Linked DNA regions of Homo sapiens: all the other regions are linked to region 1. Evidence: promoter capture Hi-C in 16 types of primary human blood cells and fetal thymus (Javierre and others, 2016). All regions are on one chromosome and are shown on one strand. Each heading gives the region's core, a stretch centred on a gene start or on the middle of the fragment in contact. The rest is flanking DNA. Distances are from core to core; before and after follow the strand shown.

Region 1 (4,610 bases), core at 885-3,384:
GGGCTGGGCGTGGCAGCACTCCCAGCTACTTCAGAAGCTGAGACTGGAGGATCTCCAGAGCCCAAAAGTTTGAGCCCAGCCTGGGCAACACAGCAAAAACCCAATGGTGCGGGAGAGGGCACAGACAAACCCAGAAAAGTAAAATCTGGCCCAGGGTCTGTTTCTGTAAATACAATAACATTTTACTGGAATGGAGCCATGCTCATTTGTTCATGTATTCTCTACAGCTAATTTCACATTACAAAAGCAGGATTGAGTAGCTGTAAAAGAAACAGCATTACGCAACCGTTAACAGCTCTGTCTTGACCAGCCTGGCCAACATGGTGAAACCCCATCGCTACTAAAAATACAAAAATTAGCCAGGCCTGGTGGCAATTGCCTGTAATCCCAGCTGCTCTGGAGGCTGAGGCAGGAGAATCACCCGAACCTGGGTGGTGGAGGTTGCGGTGAGCCCACATCGCGCTACTGCACTCCAGCCTGGGCAACAGAGCGAGACTCCATCTCAGAAAATAAACTAATAACTAAATCAACAAATAGATCTGTATGAACCGATACAGAAAGATCTCCAAATCCCATCAAGGAAAAAAAAAAAGTTTCTGAAACTGAGATGACCTTAAAAAAAATTATTTTTGTGTGTAAATTTTCTTAAGAAAAAAAAATCACAGGCCAGGTGTGGTTGCTCACGCTTATAATTCCATCACTTTGAGAGGCAGAGGCAGAAAGATTGCTCGAGCCCAGGAAGTCAAGAACAGCCTGGCCAACATGACGAAAACCCATCTGAACAAAAAATTTAAAAATTAGCTAGGTGTGGTGGTGAGCCTGTAGTCCCAGTTTACTCAGGAGGCTGACGTGCTAGTATCACTTGAGCCCAGGAAGTCTAGGCTGCAGTGAGCTAAGACTATGCTACTGCACTCCAGTCTTGGTGACAGAGCAAGACCCTGTCTCAAAAAATAAAATAAAAATCGCACACACACAGTTTTACTTGAAAGAGTAACAGTGAGTGTTCCTTAATACTGACTTATTTAAGCACGGAAACAATGCTGCTAAATTTGGTTTGCTCCGAAGTGTTGATTTCCATATGTATACAATGGCCCAACACAAAACAAGCATACAAAACGATACTCAATATCCTTGAAAAATCTCAGAGCTGTTTTTACAGTAGGAAATCCAAGGACAATAAAAATACCTTCTTGAAAAACTCTAACAGCTGATATTAAACTCACCAATCTGACAGACTGTAAATTGCTGAACACTCTGACGGGTCTTTAGATACCACTCCGATGGCAAATCAAAAAGACTGTGAACAAACAGGCATCTCATTCCACGAGCAATGACATCCCATCCCGGCACTATGGCCTCCGCGGCAGGACCACCACTCGCAACCGGGGAGGATTTTTTCCTTGTTACAACAACTAGGGAGCACTACCATCATTTAGTGGACAGAAAAAAGCAAGGTCCTCCAACACGTAGGAGCAAGCCACACAAAACGTCCTGCCCCCCAAATGCCAACAGGCTGCTGGCCAGAAACAGTGCTGGTCTGGCCAGGCTCTTATACAGAGGGGACACAGCTTTAGTTTTACCTGATCTGCTGGGGCCCAGACAGGTTAGAACGAAGGCCCGTGAACTCTATGTCCAGACCTGCCAGGAAGGCAAAAAATAGCAGTCCTCGGGTGCAGAACATCGCCAGCACTCCTCACACTGTAGATCTGCAGGCGGCCAAGGCACCCGCGCTCACCTCTGCGCTCAAGAAGCCAAGTGAGGTCAGGAAGGGAAAATGGAGGAACCAAGGCAAGGAGCAGCCAGGCACCTGGGCGCACGGGGCTCTGGCCAACAAGGGACGTGGGGCTCGGAGTGTACTTGCTGCTCAAAGTCCCACCGCCCCGGGGCTGGAGAAGGAAGCCCCCCTGTCCTTCCCGAGGCCCTCTCTGAGGCCCTGTGGCCTGGCAACCGTCCCGCCACCCCCTCCTCAAGCTCGCCCGGGGCAAGGGGCTCTGTCCGGCACAGCCGCGAATCCCAGGCTCTTCACCCACGAAGTCGGCCTCCTGGACGAGCTCCTGCAGCAGAGGGAGGCTCTCCTCGAACTCGTCGGCGCCCACGTCCATGGCCGTGCAGCTCCGCGGAGTCGCCCAGCGCTATCACGTGCTGCCCACGTGCTGCCCACGCGCTTCCGTCGCGCCGCCGGGTCTTAAAGGGCGCACACATGGAAACCAGGCAGCTGCCTCCGCCCCACGTGCCCAGCTTCCCCGTGTGCTGCTGGCGTCGCCCACACCTGCCTGCGGGTGTTTTAATTGTACGATTTGCTACAGAGGTTTGATTGCAATTGCAATCAAAGCCTGTTTACCTGGCTCCTCAGCAATTTCTTTGCAGCCCTTAACGTGAGAATGTCATTTACATGGACTTAGAATGTTAAGAGGCGTGGCAGGAGACGAAGACAGAGTCCAGAAAGGGTGAAATCAGAAAAGCGGAGCAGGAACAACACCGGACGCAACTGCAATAAGCAGATCCTTTGCTGCGGCTCACGGTCTTCTAAATCACCTCTTCCCAACTTCTCCATCACTGCCAGTATGTCTGTCCCCATTCCCTCTCCCACGCCCCTGGACATCTTTTTCCTCATTCTGCTGTCCACCTTACCACTGTCTTCACACCTGCAATCAAACTTTGCAAAGCCTCAAGAACTGCCCATTAAATTGAAGGAATCCTTGGTCCCCAGGGATTATCTCGTGCACTCACTCCTTGCGGAAATCCCTACCTACATCATCACATACATGTGAGCTTAATTTTTACTTTTGTTACTGTTTCCAGTGCAACTAGTCCATGGTCTTCCTTACAGTGTCCTCCCTTGAATTCTAGGCTTCTACTTGAACAGCGTTTTGGAACTATGGTCCTCAAAGTGAGGTGCTCAAATCAATCTTTAAGGTTAGCGGAGAAAACATTACCGTTATACTTTATTTTTTCCTTTTGAGACAGTCTCACTCTGTCACCCAGGCTGGAGTGCAGTGGTGCCATCTCGGCTCTCTGCAATCTCCACCTCCTGAGTTCAAGCGATTCTCCCGCCTCAGCCTCTGAACAGCTGGGATTACAGGCATGCACCACCACGCCCAACTCATTTTTGTTTTTAGTAGAGATAGGGTTAAACCGTATTGGCCAGGCTGGTCTCGAATTCCTGGCCTCAAGTGATCCACCTGCTTCAGCCTCCTAAAGTGGTGGGATTAGAGGTGTGAGGCACTGCATCCGATCTTCAATTATACTTTTAAATGCCTCTCCGGGACATTAATTAAGCAAAAGGGGACTATTAAGCCATTTGATTCTGAAGACCTCTCAGAACAAATCATACTTCATACAGATGTGTTCCATTTAAAATAACACATTGAATACTCAAATTGGCAGAAGTAACATATTTCACTTCTAAACAAACATTTAATTGGGGTATACATTAAAAAAACTGGAAAACAATGCTCTAGAAGCCACCTTAACTGCCTACAGGTTTTTTCTCACATTTATCAAATAGCCAAAAATTAACACCTTAATCAGCTCCTTTCAGAGAACTGCCATGATTCCCATCTACCCAAGCTCAAATTTTAGATTAACTTGCATGCATTTCAAGTTTCATCTCCTATCTAATAAAATGTTCACTTCATGGCAAATTGAGCGCCCACTAACCCCAACCATTTCCACCTCTGCTTTCAGCTCCTGATGCCACCTCCTTCCTCTTTCAAATTTGTTTCTCTTACTGTTGGGAACCAAGAGTCCAAGTGAGGTTGGCATTTGGTCCTTTCATTTTCACATACTGACTGTTCTATAGTATTAGATTGATACTGACATTTCCTATTTTAAAAAACAACCCACACTCCGAGCAGCAAACAACTGTCATTCACTGAGATCACTCGCCATGAACTAGACACAGTAATAAGTGCTTTACATCAACCTCATATGTGCTCCACTGCCACAGTGAGCTCAGACAATGTCATATAACCAGAAAATAAGAGTTCATAATATGCCTTTATTTTGTAATTTATAAACAACTTCTGACTTGCCCTTTGAAAGTTAATTATAATTGATGACTGCTTTTCTTAGATGCTTCTGAAGCCCAAGAGAGGGGCAGAACGTAGTTCTTGATTTAAAAAAACAGAAAGGGGAGGAGGATGACCTTAACTACAAATAATATTCCACTGCAACATTATTGCTGTAAAACTTCCAAGCTGGCTGTTCTTCCAGATGCTCTCTTTTGATGGCTGTAGTGGCTGACAGATTTATATTTACATGTTCAAAACAATTAATGCTTCCATTTATTCATAGATTCTCTGAGGTTCCCGTAGAACCACACCACCTTCTGTCATGGCACTTTGTAGTCGTTTCATCTGGTTTTGAAAATCAGAAAAAAAAGGAAAAGATTAAGTCAGCAGCACGAGTAGGCTGAAAATACTTTCACCTTCCAAAAGACAGAAATAAATTGATTTGTTCTTGCTAACTTCCCAGCCTACAACGGTTTTTCAGAAAGTGATCTTAATAATGATGTAAGTAAAAAGGAAATGTAGAGATGTCAAGGTTCAGCAGCATTTCAAAATATTATATGGACAAGATGTCAATATATGAACAGGAAATACAGTGGC
Region 2 (4,610 bases), core at 1,273-3,772, 650 kb before region 1:
GAATCTAACATGACTCTTTCTTGCAAGTGACAGAAAATCCAACTCAAATTGGATTAAGCAAAACAAGGCAAATTCTTAGTGAGCTGAAAAGTCTTCAGGCTCACATTAGGCCCCAGACCCCAGACCCTCCCAATCATGGAGTAGGCACTATTTGGGGCACAAAGGTGACACTCCCGTGGCTGCAGATGCTGTGGTGGCTCTGGCTCTGTTGAGAAAGAATAAGAAAGGCCACTCTCTCCCTTACATGAACAATAGTCTGTCCACTCTGAGAGACTGAAATTGGGTCATGGTCCTGCCCCTGAGCCCGTCACTGATTGGCTCTGACCTGCATCAGCTGTTCCATGCTGAAGGTGGAGGCAGGACCCCATTCATACCCAGAAGGGAGCAAAAGGTAGATCCCTCACCAGAATTATGGGATGTAGGGTGAAAGGCTGCTGGGCAGCCAGAAAACAAACAGATCCTCTACAATACTTCAACTGATGAAAGCATGAAGCTAAAATCATAAGGATCCGGGTGTGAGTTCTGTCTCTCCCATATTCCATGTGACGTTGGGCAGTTATTTAATCTCTTTTAGCCTCAGCTTTCTCATCTGTACTTACATATAAGGTCATTGTGAGGATTAGGGTTATTAATCATCGCCGTCATCCCCGTCCACCACTTATCATCATCCTCCCCATCAACATCATCACCACCACCGTCATCATCATTACTACCATTACCATCACCACCATTCCACCACCATCACCATCATCACCATCACCACCGCCATCATCATCATTACTACCACTACCACCGCCATCACCACCATCACCATCACCACCATTGCCATTATCACTACCACCACCATCATCACCATCACCACCACCATCACCATTATCATTACCACAACCATCATCACCACCACCATCATCACTATTATCACTACTATCACCATCACTATCACCACTATCATCATAAATAAACATCACATAACCGGCGTGTAACCGGGCCTTGACCCCAGAGCCCACTCGCTGTGTCCTCTCTCCCACCCCCTTCTGCACATTTCTAACCACCATCCTGCACTGGCTCCCTGTCTCCTCTGGTCTCACCCACATGTCCACTGAGAAAATGATTCTCAGAACACTAACTAGACCAGGAGGAGTCACAAAACATAACTCAGATCTGTTTATCGATTTTCTATATGTTGATGACATCAGATCAATGGGTGTTCTCAGCTTCTCAGAGGGAGGTCGAAATTCTCCCCCTCTCCCCTTCATGTTTCCAGACCTTCCTTGACTTGGATATTCCAAATGCAGAGTAGGTGTTGAGGCCAAGGGGCTCTTCCGTGTCAGCCCCATCCACAATCACTGGGCTAATCTTGTGGCCCTCTCCCCAGGACCCAATCAGGGAGGGCTTCAATCCTCAAGGTCACCCGTGGCCCCCCGCCCTCAGAGGTGCCATCTCTACATTGGCCACTGGATGGCAGCACATACTCACAGACCGCGTCAATTTCCTGGCAACTAGTGGTGGGTTTACCTCCTGATCAGGATGTTTGCCTTGCTCTGAGAGCAGATCTGAGAGCAGTGATATCTAACTTAATTTTCAGCAAAATATTTTGAAAAGGGTGCTCCCTCACCCATCTACACAGTCCACGTCATGCACCCCCTGCCCGATGCTTGGTAGCCAGGAGGAGCTTCCTCCATGCAGCTCCTTCCCGGCTAGGGCTGAGCTGGGCTCTGGAGCCAGGCTCTGGGAAGAGCCTCTTCTACGCTGCTCATGTAAACTCCAGATTCAGTGTCAGTTTTCTGAACCTGAGACAATGATCTAAGTGCAGTCCAACACTTTGGGGGAAGAAAGAAAGAGTGCCTCAGCTTTTGCCTGTGTCATGCTCGCAAAGCAAAATATTTTGAGAAATTCTAATCAAAGCTGGGCTTGCAAAATTGGAAAACGATTATTTGTGAGAGCACTGAGACATCCTTGGCGTGTCCATCTGGAAAAACAGCATTCCCTCTGGCAGTTTAGCAGATGTTCTGTTTCAATTTGGCAAAGGAAATAAAGCAGTTTTTCACAAAAGAAAAACTACAACTAGGAGAATTGTCCCTAGTTGTATTTCTTCTCCCTAATTGTCAAGGAAGTGTAAATCAGAAAATGAATCAGGACAATTTCCACCTACTATGTTAGCTAATCTTTTAAAAATTGAATACTCACAAGGGTGAGGAGAATTGTTTCCAGTAACATTTTATACTGTCACACACTTTTAGAAAATAATTTGGGAGTGTTACCGCGAGATGGAAATATGTCAACATAATTATGGGAACTTAGACTTCAGAAAAGAAACGAGAATGAACTTTATGAACAAACATGTGGAAGATTGGAAGCAAGAGTGGGGCCAGTGTGCACGGGGAGGAAGCATTTGGGCAGTGACTCCGCAGACCCAGGCTCAAGCTGAACTACACAACCTCCTTACACCTCAGTTTCCTCAGCTGTAGAACAGGAATGATAAAAGTGCCTGTTTCATAGGACGGTTGTGAGGATGAAGTGAGATACACCACATTAAGAGCTTGTGCCTGAAAAGGTTAATTCTTAGTAAATGACGACTATTCTTTTTATTGCAATAAAATATACACAACATAAGAGTTAGGATTTTAATTATTTTGCAGGGTACCACTGAATGGCATTCAGTACATTCACAATGGTGTGCAACCATCACCATATTTTCAGAACATTTTCCTCATCTCAAAAGGAAACCTCATGCCAATTAAGCAGTCACTCCCCATTAAAATATTAGTTATGAAGATTGTAGCATTATTTTAAAAACTCATGATATACATTGATTGAAAAAATCAGTATATAAAATTGTGCATTATGATGTAAGTAGTAAAGAAGCATATAAAAAATCTGAAAAAGTATATAAAAAGAATAGCAATTGCATTTCTCAGACTCTCTTTACATTGTAAAAATCATTTTCATACTTTCAAAAGAAAAGCAAAAAGTACACAAACAACAACGAACGTAAAACACCATGACAAAGCCCAGATCGTTAAACCCAGATCTCAGGAACACAGAATCATATATGATGTTTACACTCTCCAAGGTCAGAGAGTCCAGCGGCATTGGGAGCTGCCTTGTGTTCTGCAGCCTCACGGACAGACAGGAGGTCCAGTGCCACTGCTCTGTTCTTCTGGTTTTCCTCCTAAACATGTTTTGGGTTCAGCAACCATTTCTTTCATCTTTTAAACACAGGTACCTTTGGGGCTGGCCTTCTCAAGGAAGCCCCAGCTTCTTGTGATTGAGAATAAAGTGTGCAATCGCTATGAGTATCTGAATGGAAGAATCAAATCCACTGAGCTCTGTGCTAGGCATTTGGCTGGAGGCACTGACAGTTGCAAGGTAAGAAAAGGTCAAGAGACCAAAGTTAGTCTTGTGCTCTCCCTTCTTGGTCTCAGCCCCTTAGACTTCAGTCCCAAAGAGGCAAATTCTAGAAGGATTTGTCAACGTTAGACCCCAGTCTAAGTGTTGTTTAGAAACTGCCTAGATCTGTCCCTGAATGCGTATTCAGATCATCTAAGGGGATGTCTTGGGGCTTGAGTTCCAGATCGGTAGCAAGGGAGTTTTAAGTGCCGTAACTACCTCAGGCCACTCACCCTCCTGGGGTGTGCTGGTGGCCAGGGACTAAAGTGGTGACTTTTCCGACAGGGAAGGAGGTAGAGGGTACAGGACAGAGACCAACTGCACATACTTTACAGTGATGCCCAGGCTAGGCCAGTCTAAAGGAAACACCAACACAGGAAGGGATGTGTGCAGGATTCACAAGGGTTTTTTTTACCCCTGGGAGAAACTAAGTGGTGTGGTTTCGCTGAATAGATTTTGCTAAGTACTTAAGCACTGCAGATGCTCCAGTAATATGCCCATAAGTTCCTTTCCAATTTCAATTACTGGGAAAATATACATATGGACAATAGATGGATGCCACAATAAAAGGCTGGCAGCCTAACCCTCACATGAATTTTTCCCTACCTCTATTTAGGGTGACAGTGGAGGGCCTCTGGTTTGCTTTGAGAAGGACAAATACATTTTACAAGGAGTCACTTCTTGGGGTCTTGGCTGTGCACGCCCCAATAAGCCTGGTGTCTATGTTCGTGTTTCAAGGTTTGTTACTTGGATTGAGGGAGTGATGAGAAATAATTAATTGGACGGGAGACAGAGTGACGCACTGACTCACCTAGAGGCTGGAACGTGGGTAGGGATTTAGCATGCTGGAAATAACTGGCAGTAATCAAACGAAGACACTGTCCCCAGCTACCAGCTACGCCAAACCTCGGCATTTTTTGTGTTATTTTCTGACTGCTGGATTCTGTAGTAAGGTGACATAGCTATGACATTTGTTAAAAATAAACTCTGTACTTAACTTTGATTTGAGTAAATTTTGGTTGTGGTCTTCAACATTTTCATGCTCTTTGTTCACTCCACCAATTTTTAAATGGGCAGATTGAGGGGGTTGTGCTGTTTTTGATAAGGAACAGAGCACAAAGACCTGAGCAGGCTGCAAGGTCACAGAGGGCAGAGCCGAGAAGTCCTAGGAAGTTGTCCATGCATTTACCTCATCAGCTAACGAGGGCTTGACACACATT
Region 3 (4,610 bases), core at 1,568-4,067, 630 kb after region 1:
GAGCCTCTCCCGAAATGTTTGCTTCCAGGCTCCCTGCCCCCCTCATCCCTTGAGGTAGGAAGAATAATGATCCCCCAAAGATGTCCTTGTCCTAATCCCGAGAACCAAGGATGTGGGCACCTCTAGAAGGTAAAAAGAGCATGGAAATAGATTCTCCCTTAAAGTTTCAATGCAGGCCTTGATTTTTGCCCAGTACCGCACATTTCAGACTTCTGATCTCTATAACTATAATAAAGATCATAAATTTGTATTGTTTCAAGTCATTAAGTGTGTGGCAATTTGTTATAGCAATAGGAAATGAATACACTCTCCTTCCCCTCCTGTTTTCAGGGAACGGGCCTTTAGAACTTAAGTATGATGTGAATGGTCTTGGTAGAGTATATTCATCATGCTCTGGAACTGTCTGGTGATAACTTTCCAGGGGTGCAAATTGTCACTCTGCAATCCTATTACAACCTCTGATTCCACAGGAATAAATTTCATGATCAGTTGATGAACAAAACAGCTCTTCCATCTGCCATTGGCGGGTGCCAGTGCACAAAAAAGGAGAGAGGGTCTCACCACGTTCTCTCAAAGAGGACTGAAGTAACAGGGAAACCCCATAAAGCCACATGCAGGTTGAGCCACAGGCGAGCTTCTAAAGGCTTCCAGAGATGGAAGGAGCCTCCTTCAATTGACCTATTCTGAAGCGCGGAGACTAGCCCAAGGCCCCCAGAGGTGCAGGACAGCACTGCCACTCACACCCAGGCATCCTGATTTTTAACCTACTTCCCTCCGTATATACCAGTGTGTCTCAAACATTTTGGTGTCTGAATTATCTTCTATTCTTAAATTTACGAGGATGCCAAGGAGGTTATGTTTCTGTGAGTTTTATCTATCCTTATTGACTTTACTGGGAATTAAAACGAAAATATGTACTTATTTATTTTAAAAAACAATAATAAACCATTACATGTTGACATACAAATATATTTATATGAAAAGTAACTGTTTCCCAAAACAAAGAGAAATGAGTGAGAAGAGCAGCTTTGTTTCTACATTTTGGCAAATCTTTTTAATAGAATATCTCCGATCTGCTTATGCATTCAATCTATTGCAATATGTCGTTTTGCTTGGAGAAAACCCAGCCTCACACAGATGTGTAGCTGGACAACTATTTCAATAGCCTTTTTGGATAATTTTGAAAAATCTTTGATATTACACCAAAATTCATCAAGTAGCCAATTCTTAGAATCTGAAATCATATGAAGAATTTTTCATATTTTGTTACATTAAAAATCCATTGGGCTATCATGCACTTTGAACAGACCTTTTACCCATGCAAGATTGTTGTAAGGCTATACACTGGTCATTTGGATCTATTGGTTTATTTGGTTATGCAGATCATCCAAATGTTGACACATTTTATGAGATGACATTTACAAATCACATTCATTTATATCACCATTGATCTCACTAGAAAAAAATTTAAATATTGGGAAACTTTCAAGCTTACAGTGGTGGAAACAACTTGGCAAAATTCTGATTTTCACTTGAAAGCTGAAATGTTATCATTGGCAAGCAATAATAGCAGTTATTTTACTAGAAGTAGCAAGTTCCCTTTGTTCATTTTTGAGAAAACATCGGCCAAATACCCAAGTCAGAATAGCTCTAGTTTGTCTGTTGTCATTCTTTGTGGTAAATACCACATTCCATTTTAAAAAACCAGCTAGCTTAATGCATAACACAAACAATCACACCAGTGCTTCCCCCTGGGGTTGCCACTGAACTTGGTCATCAGCAGTAGTAACTTATGTGTCCTTCCCATTTATTTACACTATTAAAAAGACATACACTCAAAGATACAAAGATTTGGTAAAATTAATAATTTTACTGTGGCATCAAGAACATTCTTAATGAAACTGGCAAATTTTTTTTAACTGCAAAGTCCCCCCAAAATTCAAAGACTACTAGTGCATGGTGATGTCCCTGCCTTGATTCTCAGTAAGACACCCGCAGTTTACCCATCAAGCTTTTGCACCCTCAGTGCAAATGTCAACTGTGAAAAAGGAAAATAGCATCTTAGTAATCTTAGTATTACTTTGAAAATAGTTTTGACATGGAAAATTCCCTAAAAGCTTCTTTAAAGAAGAAAATAAAAATCATCCCTAACCATCCTAAGATACCCACTGCAAATATGTGCATGTGTGAGTACATCCACATGTGTTTAGAAAAATGTATCATACCAGACTGGCAAGGCCATCATAATTTTAATGTTTGCATAGTATCCTATTGTAGGGATGAATATGAGTGGAGGAGGGGACACTGCTTGCTTATTTTGTTTTATGTTTAATTGACCCTACACTGAAGGGCTTATCCAGATCTTCAGTGTGTCCTGCTTTAAGCAAAGTCCCTCGGAGCCACTATTATGTGGCCGTGGGTAATTTCCTTACAGAGATTCTGGCCCCAAAAGGGTGGTGAAGGGGAGAGCTTGACACAAGCAGCTCGCTTGGTCCATGCATTAGTTCAACCAGAGAGAGGGAGCAGTCTATCCATGACGTTGCTGTCAAAGGGAGCCCATGAAAGAAGTTATGTACCCCATAATTTCATCCACAGCATGGGGAGCTATCTACAGGTTGCTATGTCTGTTTCTATCCTTCTATTACTTAATTTAAATTTAGTAGATTTCATTCTGAAATGTGCCTGTCCTCCTTTGTCCACCTCTAGTCTGGTCATCATTTGACTGTAGATCCCACGTCAACACAGTAGAGAGAAGGGCTGGGAAGCTGTCCAGCCCCAGCATTCCTCAGCACAGTGATTCACAGAGCAGAAGGCGAAAAAGCAAGAGTGCAGATCGCGGTGGGATTCCAGGAGCTCTCACAAACAACCCCGCTCGGACCCACTCACATGCAACCCACGGGCAGGTGGCAGAGGAATCGGAAAAGCAGAAGGCTGGAATCGCCACAAAGCCAGGGCAGCACTGGTTCCAGTTTCAGATCATTTTCAGAAACAAAAACTCTTCCAGCACTCTGAAAATTTTCACTTAGAAAAACAAAAGCCAGGAGTTGTAGGTGGGGAAGTTGGAAGACTTTATTTAGTTTTATTCCTCTCAAGTACTGTGCAAAGTATTCAGTGAATACTTTCCTAGAGTTCACTAATGGGAAGAAAAAGACCCTACGGCAGGCACTGCCTTTTATGAGAAAGTGGCATTGGCATCAGAATACCTCGCATAAACCTGAGCCAAGCATTGGGATGATGTATCTACCAAAAAGTCACAAAGTAATGTGATCCCCAACTTTTCTTCCTTTACCCCTGAAGTAAGAGAACAATATATACACTAAATAGCATCATAAAACTGGTACCCTCGTTGGAATAGTATCTGACGATCATTGTCTGCTTCTTGGATTTCTACAAACCAATAACCTAAAAGCCAGTTTCAAGTGTAAAAATGCCTGCAAAGGAGGTGGTAACAAGGGCCGCCAAAGGCTTAGGAATGAAAACCTCGCCACAAACTTGTCTCTCTCTGCAGGAAGCTTGCAAGAAATCTGACAGGAGCGCGCTAGCATTTTCTGAAAAGCATTGCTCTCAAAGGAAGCATCCATCCTGGCTGCAGCCTCAGCCATTGGGGAAGGGCGAGTTTCTCTGGAATCAGCTTTCTCATTTCCCTCTCCCTCCTCTCAAGACAAACATTTTCTCCCAGCTTGAACGTTCCCCCCGGGCGCGCGGGCCTCCTGCCGCCTGGAGCCGAGCTGGCACTGGAGCGCTTCTCCTCTGGAGCGCAGAGGCACCCGACGCCCTGCGGCAGCTCGCAGCCTTTCCCCCACGACCTTCTAGAACAGCCCTGCTCTGCCTCCCTCCGGTCTCCCGAGTGCGCCCGTCATCCTGCCTCGCGAGAGGTGAACGCGGAGAAAGTAGGATGACCACCTACGCTCCCGAGAAATTCTGGGCAAAGAAAGGCATTACCCCAGTCCGCACGCTGAAAGTCGCCTTTCTTTTCCTTTTTTCCCCGCTGTGCCTGAATCTCCCGGGACACTTAGACGGCTGGAGCCTCCCGACTCCAAGGCGGGCGACGGCAAAGTTAAACGCCAGCGCGCTGCGGTCCCCGGGCACCGAGGCGTCCCCGCTCCCGCCACCCACACAGGGCGCCAAGTGCCCCGACCCGCGAGTGACGAGGACGCACAGGCTAGTGACACGACCCGTAGCCAGCACTGAGCGGGACGACGGGGCCCGAGCGCAGGAGGGTGCGCGGGGAGCTGAGGAGCGCCGGGGGCCCGGGCGCGGCGCGTACCTGAGGCCGCCGCCGAGGAGGCGACGGGGAGCAGCGCGGCCAAGAGCAGCAGCGCCGCCCAGGACAGCCGGCGCGGCGCGCGCAGGGTCGCCCCGGCCTCGGGGGCCATCGAGAGCCCGGGGTGGGCCGGGGCTGGGTGCTTGCGGCTGGCAGGGGGGCGCTGGCCGGAGTCTGGGGAGTGCCGAGGCGCCGCCGTCGGGTCCCCGCCGCCGTCCGTCTGTTCTGCGCGCTCTGCGCGGTGCCCGCCGCGCCCCTGCCCCGCGGCGATCGCTCCCGGCCGCACACCGGCAGCCGCGCTCCGCCACTGAGGCCGCCGACCTCCCGCCGAGCCTTTTAGCTGCGC

What was found. The method cuts DNA at HindIII sites, captures the fragments that hold promoters and counts their contacts. A CHiCAGO score of 5 or more calls a contact.
Region 2: a contact is called between a fragment that was not itself captured here and the fragment with the promoter of PNLDC1 in region 1, in 5 of 17 cell types (total CD4 T cells, naive CD8 T cells, total CD8 T cells and 2 more). The highest score is 9.4, in total CD4 T cells.
Region 3: a contact is called between a fragment that was not itself captured here and the fragment with the promoter of PNLDC1 in region 1, in 1 of 17 cell types (M0 macrophages). The highest score is 5.2, in M0 macrophages.

Annotation. Positions count from the first base shown.
Region 1 is chr6:159,797,800-159,802,409 of GRCh38, reverse strand. It overlaps PNLDC1 (PARN like ribonuclease domain containing exonuclease 1), which reads right to left and starts at 2,134. Exons shown (of 19, transcript NM_001271862.2): 1 at 2,027-2,134; 2 at 1,581-1,638; 3 at 1,224-1,297. The coding sequence starts at 2,102. MRPL18 (mitochondrial ribosomal protein L18) reads right to left here. Exons shown (of 4, transcript NM_014161.5): 4 at 3,981-4,358. The coding sequence ends at 4,287. The HindIII fragment of the contact is 10,328 bases long and covers 1-4,610 here.
Region 2 is chr6:160,452,983-160,457,592 of GRCh38, reverse strand. No RefSeq gene overlaps it. Among named protein-coding and RNA genes, the nearest start is that of SLC22A3, 110 kb to the right of the region's middle. The HindIII fragment of the contact is 6,115 bases long and covers 1-4,610 here.
Region 3 is chr6:159,169,363-159,173,972 of GRCh38, reverse strand. FNDC1 (fibronectin type III domain containing 1) reads right to left here and starts at 4,573. Exons shown (of 23, transcript NM_032532.3): 1 at 4,268-4,573. The coding sequence starts at 4,376. FNDC1-AS1 (FNDC1 antisense RNA 1) reads left to right here and starts at 3,966. Exons shown (of 4, transcript NR_121668.1): 1 at 3,966-4,161. RefSeq lists an enhancer at 3,219-3,718 and a silencer at 4,525-4,610. The HindIII fragment of the contact is 1,395 bases long and covers 2,120-3,514 here.